Regions from separate parts of the Homo sapiens genome. Here region 2 is linked to region 1. The links are contacts of gene promoters, found by promoter capture Hi-C in blood cells and fetal thymus (Javierre and others, 2016). All regions are on one chromosome and are shown on one strand. The core of a region is centred on a gene start or on the middle of the fragment in contact, and the rest is flanking DNA. Distances in the headings are between cores, read along the strand shown.

Region 1 (4,046 bases), core at 906-3,405:
GTTAGCCAGGCTGGTCTCTAAGTTCTGACCTCAGGTGATCTGCCCGCCTCGGCCTTCCCAAGTGCTGGGATCCCAGGCGTGAGCCACCCCGCCCAGCCTAGATTATTTAAATATCACATCACAACTTCATATACATTTGAGATTAAAAGTGATAAAGTTCCAAGTCCCAAAGCAGCACGAGCTAAGGATACCATTTCCATTCAAATGAGTTGTTATTCTTCTCCCAAAAAGTGGATAAAGAGTGCAGACCTAATCACCCATCTACTTCTCTGTGTTATGTTACTTTCCCAAGTAATAAATATCACCAGCCTAATGGCCACTTTCTTTAAAGCTTTAAGTCTATTGTCAAAAGAAAAACACACCAATGTTTTTGATGTAGTGGCCTCATATCTCAACCAGCATAACCTCACCAAAGAGGCTACCAAACTCTAGAATTAAGTTTAAGTCCACACAAGTGAAAGTTTTCCAGGTGAATCAAGAGAGATCCAAGTTGCACTGGCACAGCTTCAATGTCTCCATGAGGAGGCTGCATGCAGGCAGGCTCATGAATCAAGTGGAACGACAACATCTTGGGCAAGAACAGGAGGGCTGGCATTCAACACTGCCTGCCTGGTCGGTTCCCTTGCCCTGGGCTCCAACCTGGCAATCCCAGGAGGGTTAAAACAGAACTTCAGCACACGGGAATAACCGCAGAGGAAGGCACCGAAAAGGAGGGAAGGAAGAAGGTGTGAGCTCACCATCTGCAGCTGAGGTTCAAACTCTTTGAGCTGGTTTCCTGATTTTCATCAAGACAGCCAGGCAGTATTTGGTAAACAGTGTACCAAGTAGCCCTGGAGACTCTGAGCAGCCTACCCCCTTAACCACAAAAACACCGGACAGGCGGAGGGAAAAAGAGAAGACAGGATCCAGGAATGGTGCACACACCCAGCCAAAGGCCACCTTCCCTCAGGCACCCAAGCCAAGAGTGGCATCCCCAGGTCCTGTTATACGTCAAAGGCTGCAGCCGTGTGGGCCCCAAAGCAATAGCACAGCTTGCTCCCCTGACCAACCAACTCCTTCTGAAAAGAAAATCGACCTTCTCTGATGGAGCCGAAACCCAATGAATCAATGAAATTCAACAGCAGCAGCAATCACTACCTCTCCAATTGCGGACCTCTCAGGATGCCTGGCCAGGCTTGAAAGCCCTAGAGGAGTAAGGAGTTCGGATTTCTGATTCAGTGAGTCTGGGGAAACTCTGAGGAGGGTCACAAGGGCAAACCTCCCCGGCCTCTCCTGCTTGGCCCCAGCCCTAGGACGTGCTGCGGTAAGGGCTTTGCTCCCCCCGCCCTACACACACACACACACACACACACACACACAGACACACACACACCACCCCCCCCCCCCCGGGACACGGAGGGTGGGAAGGAAGGAAATGGAGGCCGCTCATCAAAGCGCCCGAAATCAGCGCACCCGCGTGTGTCCTGCGTCGCCCCCCAGGCCACCCCAGGACTAAGCCCTGCCCTCTCACCGGCGCGTCCCAGCCACGCCTTCCCTCCAGCGTTGCTCCGGCACCCTCGCCTAACCTCTGCACGTCTCGGATTCCCAGCTTTCTCCTAAATCGCGTCCCTCCAAAAGTCGCCCCAGCTCCCCCTTCTGCAGCTGTCTACACCTCCCCCACTCATTAGCAGCTCTTAACCCCCGACGGCCCTGCTCCTGCACTTCCCTCTCCAGCAGGCCCCGGACCCCGGAAAACTGCCCCGCTCCCACAGCGCCGCCCCCATGGGCCCCCGCCCCTTCCCCGAGCCGACCCCACTCGCCCTCGTCCTCCCCAAGATGTCTTCTCCAGGCGCCCCCCGGGGCCCCGAGCACTCGCCCCCTCCCACAGAGACAGGAAGTTCCGCGCGGCCCGACCCGCTTCCCTCAGGGCGCGGAGCTCGGCGCGGCGGCCCTGACGGGGCGCGGGCCCGGCCGCGGACCAGCGCCCCCGCGTCCCGCCCGCGGCGCCCCAACCGTCGCGGCGACCCCTGACCTCGGCGGCCACTCACCTCCCAATCCGTCGCACACTCCGTTCAGGCTGCCACGGCGTCTCCAGACCCAGCTCCGGCCGGGCTCCCGCTACCGCTTTTGCTCCGGCAGCACTGCCCAGCCCTGCCCAGACCCCTGCGGCCGCTTCTGCCGCCAGCCGCGACCGCACCGCCCCCGCCGCTCCCGCTGGGCTCTGTCCATTGGCTACCGGACACCGAGCCCCGCCCCACAGCCTCCCCGGCGCCCCCGATTGGGCCAGATGAGTAGAGAGGCGGCTCACCCCGCGTGAGGACGAGGGAAAGCCCCAGGACGCGCATTGGTGACTTCTCCTGTCAATCAAACGGGGAGTGCCTATTTAATGGGCTGCGAGGGTGGCGCAGATTACTCTCCCAAAGCCGCTCGCTGGTGGTGGTCCTTGAGACGCGCTTCCCGGGGCTGGAGTTTTGCGGTTTCGTCGGCATCCAGGGGTAAGAGGGCGCGGCAGGGCAGCACCGCACCTGACCGGAAGTTCAGGGAAGGTAATCCTACAGTCTTTCAGAAAGTTTCCTCTCCCAAGGGACTCAAAGAAGCTAATGTCGTTAGGAGCTCCTCCGACTTGCGCCAAAAGCGTCATTCCACGTGGACCCGCTTAGTTTAAACGGGGGGTTGGGGGGGCGTATGTTGCTGCTCTCTCTAATAAAATATATTTGGATGGCAAGGCACCAGGCAATGCACACGCATTCTTTCCAATTCTCACAATCACCTTGCATGATAGGGTATTAGCCCCGTTCTGCAGAGGGAAATACTCTTGAAGGAAAATGGAGAGCACTTCCTGAGCACTGTCCTACGCGCTGTCCAAGCACTGCTTCATGTCATCCAGGTGGAGAGGATGGTGAGAGGAACCCCAGGTGAGGGGTGAGCCAGGTAACTTGCTGGGGGTGATGTGGAGTAAAGAGAGTAAATGGCAGAGCCAGGATTAGAAACCCAGGTCAGCCCAACCCTTGAGAATAATAATGATGACTGTGTAGCACTATGGGAAAATGCTTAAACTAAAACGTTAAAAGAAAAAGCCAGATAGAGCCAGGCATGGTGACATGCACCTGGAATCCCAGCTTCTTGGGACGCCGAGGCAGGAGAATCGCTTCAGCCCAGGAGTTTGAGGCCAACCTGGGCCACATAGCAAGACCCAGTTCTCTAAAAAGTAAAATAAAAGAAAATAATAATAAAAGAAAAAGCTAGATACAAAATGGTAGAAACTGTAGAATTGCTGCTACATATAGATAGGTATGAGAAAAGAGTCCACAAAGAAATCTAGTGGTTGTTTACTTTCTAGACTGCTCTGTGGCATTGTCCTTATGACAATAATTGAGAAAGAAACAAAAGAACCGGCTAGGCACGGTGGCTCACGCCTGGAATCCCAGTACTCTGGGAGGCCGAGGCGGGCAGATCACAAGGTCAGGAGTTTGAGACCAGCCTGGCCAACACAGTGAAAGCCTGTCTCTGCTAAAAATACAAAAAATTAGCTGGGTGTGGTGGCATGCACCTGTAATCCCAGCTACTTGGGAGTCTGAGGCAGGAGAATCACTTGAACCTGGGAGGCGGAGGTTGCAGTGAGCCAAGATCACGCCACTGTACTCCAGCCCTGGCGACAGTGCGAGACTCCATCTCAAAAAAAAAAAAAAAAAACCAACACACAGTGCCAGGACAAACCACTGCCAAGAAGTCTCTCCTCATTCTCCAGGACTGAGCCAACAGGGACCTCTTTGCCACCCACAATACCTGTGGACCATTTGTATAGATAGAACTCAGCCATCAGCTCTCAGCACTTTCATATCTGGGTAAGTTCCGCTTACATCGCAATTCCATGCCCTATAAAAATATAGAGCCTTGTCGGGCGCTGTGGCTCACGCCTGTAATCCTAGCACTTTGGGAGGCCGAGACGGGCGGATCACGAGGTCAGGAGATCAAGACCATCCTGGCTAACATGGTGAAACCCTGTCTCTACTAAAAATACAAAAAATTAGCCAGGCGTGGTGGCGGTCGCCTGTGGTCCCAGCTAC
Region 2 (4,046 bases), core at 721-3,220, 110 kb before region 1:
ATAATGCAATGAGACAGTGACACATTGTGAGAAGGAACACTCTGGGTGGTCAGGGCTGCCTGGAGGAAGCGATGTTTGAGGCGGTAGCTGAAGACAGCTCTGAGGCAAGGCCGCTTTCTCACAGCTGAGGAAAATGCCATGAGGCCCACGGAGAGTGAGCTGGGGGCTCTGCTGCCCCAGGACGCTTCCCCCACAGATTACCCCTCCCCCTGGTGGACATGTGCTGTCACATGCCAAAATGCATCAAAATAGTGGGTTCTGAGGGCAACTACTATGCCTCTATATGTCTCCATCATCCATGCCAGGCAGAAAGAGGACACCCTATCTTCTCAGAGCCCAAACAGTGCTGGGAGCTGGGATTTCCATTCCCCCTGGAAAGGAAGGGACTGAGAAGTCGCTGAGATCTCAGAGGCATGGTCAACCAAACAACTCATGATCCTTTATCTGTCAGTTCTTTTTTTTTTGAGATGGAGTCTCGCTCTGTCTTCCAGGCTGGACAGTGGTGCATCTCAGCAGTGGCATGATCTCGGCTCACCACAACCTCTGCCTCCTGGGTTCAAGCGATTCTCCTGCCTCAGCCTCCCAAGTAGCTGGGATTACAGACATGCACCACCACGCCTGGCTAATTTTTGTATTTTTAGTAGAGACAGGGCTTCGCCATGTTGGCCAGGCTGGTCTTGAACTCCTGACCTCAAGTGATCCACCCACCTCAGCCTCCCAAAGTGTTGGGAATACAGGTGTGAGCCACCGCGCCCGGCCTATTTATCAGTTCTCAATCCTGCGAGTCACACGAGCTCTCTCCATGGTAGCTAAAAGGAATCAACTCTTAGCACGTCATCAGCCAGTAACTTCATGGCCGGCAGAAGAGCAACTCCCGGCGCTTCTGCCGCATTCCTGAGAGAGTCACATAAGCACAGCCAGCTGCAGGGCCTCACCGGGCCTTCACTGCAGCTACAAAGCTTTCAGGGAAATCCAGGGCCTGAGTTAGTTTATCCCTAAGCCAACCCACGTCCCAGGCAGCTAGAGGGGGCTCCAGGACTGAGTCCCTTCTCCTCAGGACTGTGCCCTGCAGAGTCACTACCTCTCACCCACCTTCCCTGGGGAGGGTGTGCGTGTGCCTGGCAGATGTTGTATCCTGTACACACCTGCCAGATGTCCCCATGGTGACAGCTTCAGGCAACTTTCTTCCAACCTATCCTAACCCCTATGCTGAATCTTCCTTTCCAAACGGGGATGACTGTTGATATTAGGGTTGTGAAATCTGTGATGTGTGTTTGAAAACACCAAAGAGTAACAGGGGTCCTTGAAAAACCATCTAGTCCGTGCCTTGCTTTCAGGTGCCAAACTGCAATTTCCACATCCTCATTTCTATGGGATTCCACTCGTCCTGGTCCCCAAACTTCCCACCAGCTCATCCACCACTGGGCTCCCAACTTGTCTCAGCCCTGGAATGTAGGCCCTGGGAGTTCCACACTTCGGTGCTGCCTTGAACCACAAGCTCAGACTAACACCTAACCTCACTGGGGCTCGCCATCTGCAAATGAGGTGATGCTATTTACCTTGCAGGGCCCAAGAGGGTTAGAGATTCAGAATCGCCTTGAGTCTGATCTACAATCCAGACTCGATTCTGACCCAGCACTAGTCCTGTCCTTTCCTCGGGGCCTCAATTCTGTCTCAACTTGGGGTTTTCAGTTCTTGCTCCCAACACTGACTGGCCGTATCCTCTGTTCCTGAAACCTGTATCCTCAAGTACGAAGGTGAAGAAAATGGAGCTCACTACCCTGAAAGCACCCCTTGCCGTTTGATCATTTAAAAGCATGAATCCCAGATTTCAACAATCATAAAGACACACTGAGTTACGAATCTTTAACTGAAATGTTCAAAATGACAAAATAAAAAATAGATGACACAGAAACCCAGAAATTGCAATTTTCAGATCCTAACTCCAAAGGCAGAACACATAAGATAGACAACATAGAAAGAAAGGATGTGTTTACGCAAAGCTGTGTTGAACTAACTCTTCCTCAAGGCCGTCGGCCAGGCTCCCCATGCTCTGCTCCCTTGGTGCGTGTTACACAGATGTCGAGAAGGCCCCGCGACACCCTACATGGCGTTCACATGCACAGCATATGCCGCCCTGTGTGCCATCTCCCATCCTGGAGCCCTGGGTCTCTGGGAAGACATGCACTGCTCACTTGCCTTCAGCCGAGCACCCAGCAAGTGGCAGGAATTTGGTATGTGGCTGCCGTTTTTGCTCTCCCTCACTCCTCAGGGAGGCGCCCCCACTGATGCAGGCATCACCTTGCTGGAAGAGCTGCCATGGCGAGATCACCTGCCCGGTCCCTAAGCTCGCTGAAGACCTGAGGCTTTTGGCAGAATTCCCAAGGCACCCCCTGACTGACAGGGAGTGTGAGAGACATCCAAAACTGGCTCGACCCCTAAGGTCCAAAGCCGATGATCTAGTGGGGAAACGCCAGCTGGGAAAAGCTGGAGGATCAATTCTTCCAGGAAGCCTCCCCACCTCCTTCCGTTCCCTCCTCTTCCCAGTTTGGTGCTTCCACAGCCCCCCCATACTGCACTCCAGTCTACCTCCACCCTGGCCCTAGCCCCCTGCACCCGAATCCTGGTTTACTTTATGACTCCTGTTACCCTACCAGTCCCCACTAGTGGAATGTGGGCTCCTCTCCCCATCTCTGTGCCTGGGCACCCCAGCTCCGCCCCCCTGCACTGTGCCCAGCTCAAACAATCGTTTATCCACAAATGTCTCCATGGAGCTAAGCCCACCACAGTCTAATGAGCACTACGGACCCCACCGGCTCTAAAATGAAAGGAGATTTGTTACTGAATAGAAAGGAAAAATGTGTCTCTTAAACAGTTTTAAAAAGTTATTCTGACATCACTGAGATCAAATAAGAAAATAAAATTTTATCTTCATCTACAGAAATGCACAAAAAAAATTTAAAAAATTTTATCTTCAGAAGACAAGCTTCTTGACAGCACAAAACCCCGAAGTGCTAAATTCCCTCAACGCAAAAACCAAAGAACTCTTTCTCTGCATTCAGAATGATGGCATTCACACGGGGGGAAGACAGGTCTGTCTGCACAACAGAAGGAAAGGTGACCTCATTCATCCACCTTTTCCTGTCTCCGCGTGTGCGATGCTCCCGCGTGTGGCTGCAGAAACGGTAAGTGTAGAGAGGACGCTCAGAGACCACTCGGGCTCGGGAGTCATTTAGACTTGGCCTTGCCATGCAGGTGTCCTGTGACCTCAGACAAAATAAACTCTGGGTGTCAACAGGCTCATTGGTGCCGCTGGCCCAGTGCCCAACTACCAGCAAGTGCTGTCCCTGGCCTGGGCAGCCCATCACAGAACAGCAGCAGGCCATCACTGCTGGCTGAGCCTGACCTGCGACGGTGCACCCCAAATTCTGCTTTCTTTTCCTCCACTGAAAGTGGAATTTGATTTTTCCCAGTATCGGGAATGGCTGAGCACGCAGGCCGAAGACAATGTTGTAGATGTCATACACCAAAGGGCATGAAAGAGCTGAAAACAAAAATGACAGATTCGACGGCCTGCAGCAGCCAGCCAAAATAAACTGCCCGGCTGGCTCCCTGCAGTGCTCCTGGTGGGTGGATGGGTAAAAGGGATTGGTGCTGGCCAGGGCTGGTCCCTGCCCTGTTTGCCCTAAAAGCAGGAAGCCGCCTGTGGGAACCAGGCCAATTCTGCAGCTGCTGGAACACAGCAGGAGAGGCTCCTGTGAGACCTTCAGTCATATCTACCTGACCACCCACCGCCACCCACTCCTTCAAGTATGTAAGTCCCTCCCATGTGCTGTGCATGGCACCAGGCCCTGGCAACACCAGCCAAGCAACACCTGCCAAGCTAGGGGACAGTGGCCATGGACAGGGATGGCAGCAGTGCTGAAAACTGTCCAAGGGAAATGGCAGTCACTTGTGGAACTGTCTTGTGCTGCTGCTGGCCTGTGAGCTCCAAGAGGACAAGGGACTGTCCCTGTCACACTCACCTCTGTGTCCCAGCCCCAAGC

Evidence for each region. The method cuts DNA at HindIII sites, captures the fragments that hold promoters and counts their contacts. A CHiCAGO score of 5 or more calls a contact.
Region 2: a contact is called between a fragment that was not itself captured here and the fragment with the promoter of PACSIN2 in region 1, in 3 of 17 cell types (neutrophils, endothelial precursors and monocytes). The highest score is 9.5, in neutrophils.

Annotation. Positions count from the first base shown.
Region 1 is chr22:43,012,994-43,017,039 of GRCh38, forward strand. PACSIN2 (protein kinase C and casein kinase substrate in neurons 2) reads right to left here and starts at 2,156. Exons shown (of 11, transcript NM_001184970.3): 1 at 2,028-2,156. RefSeq lists enhancers at 1,758-2,461, 2,444-2,643 and silencers at 1,884-1,953, 2,074-2,123, 2,134-2,323. The HindIII fragment of the contact is 24,608 bases long and covers 330-4,046 here.
Region 2 is chr22:42,902,155-42,906,200 of GRCh38, forward strand. The region is part of intron 2 of PACSIN2 (protein kinase C and casein kinase substrate in neurons 2); the gene reads right to left. Among named protein-coding and RNA genes, the nearest start is that of ARFGAP3, 47 kb to the left of the region's middle. RefSeq lists enhancers at 2,357-2,877, 3,772-4,046. The HindIII fragment of the contact is 2,027 bases long and covers 958-2,984 here.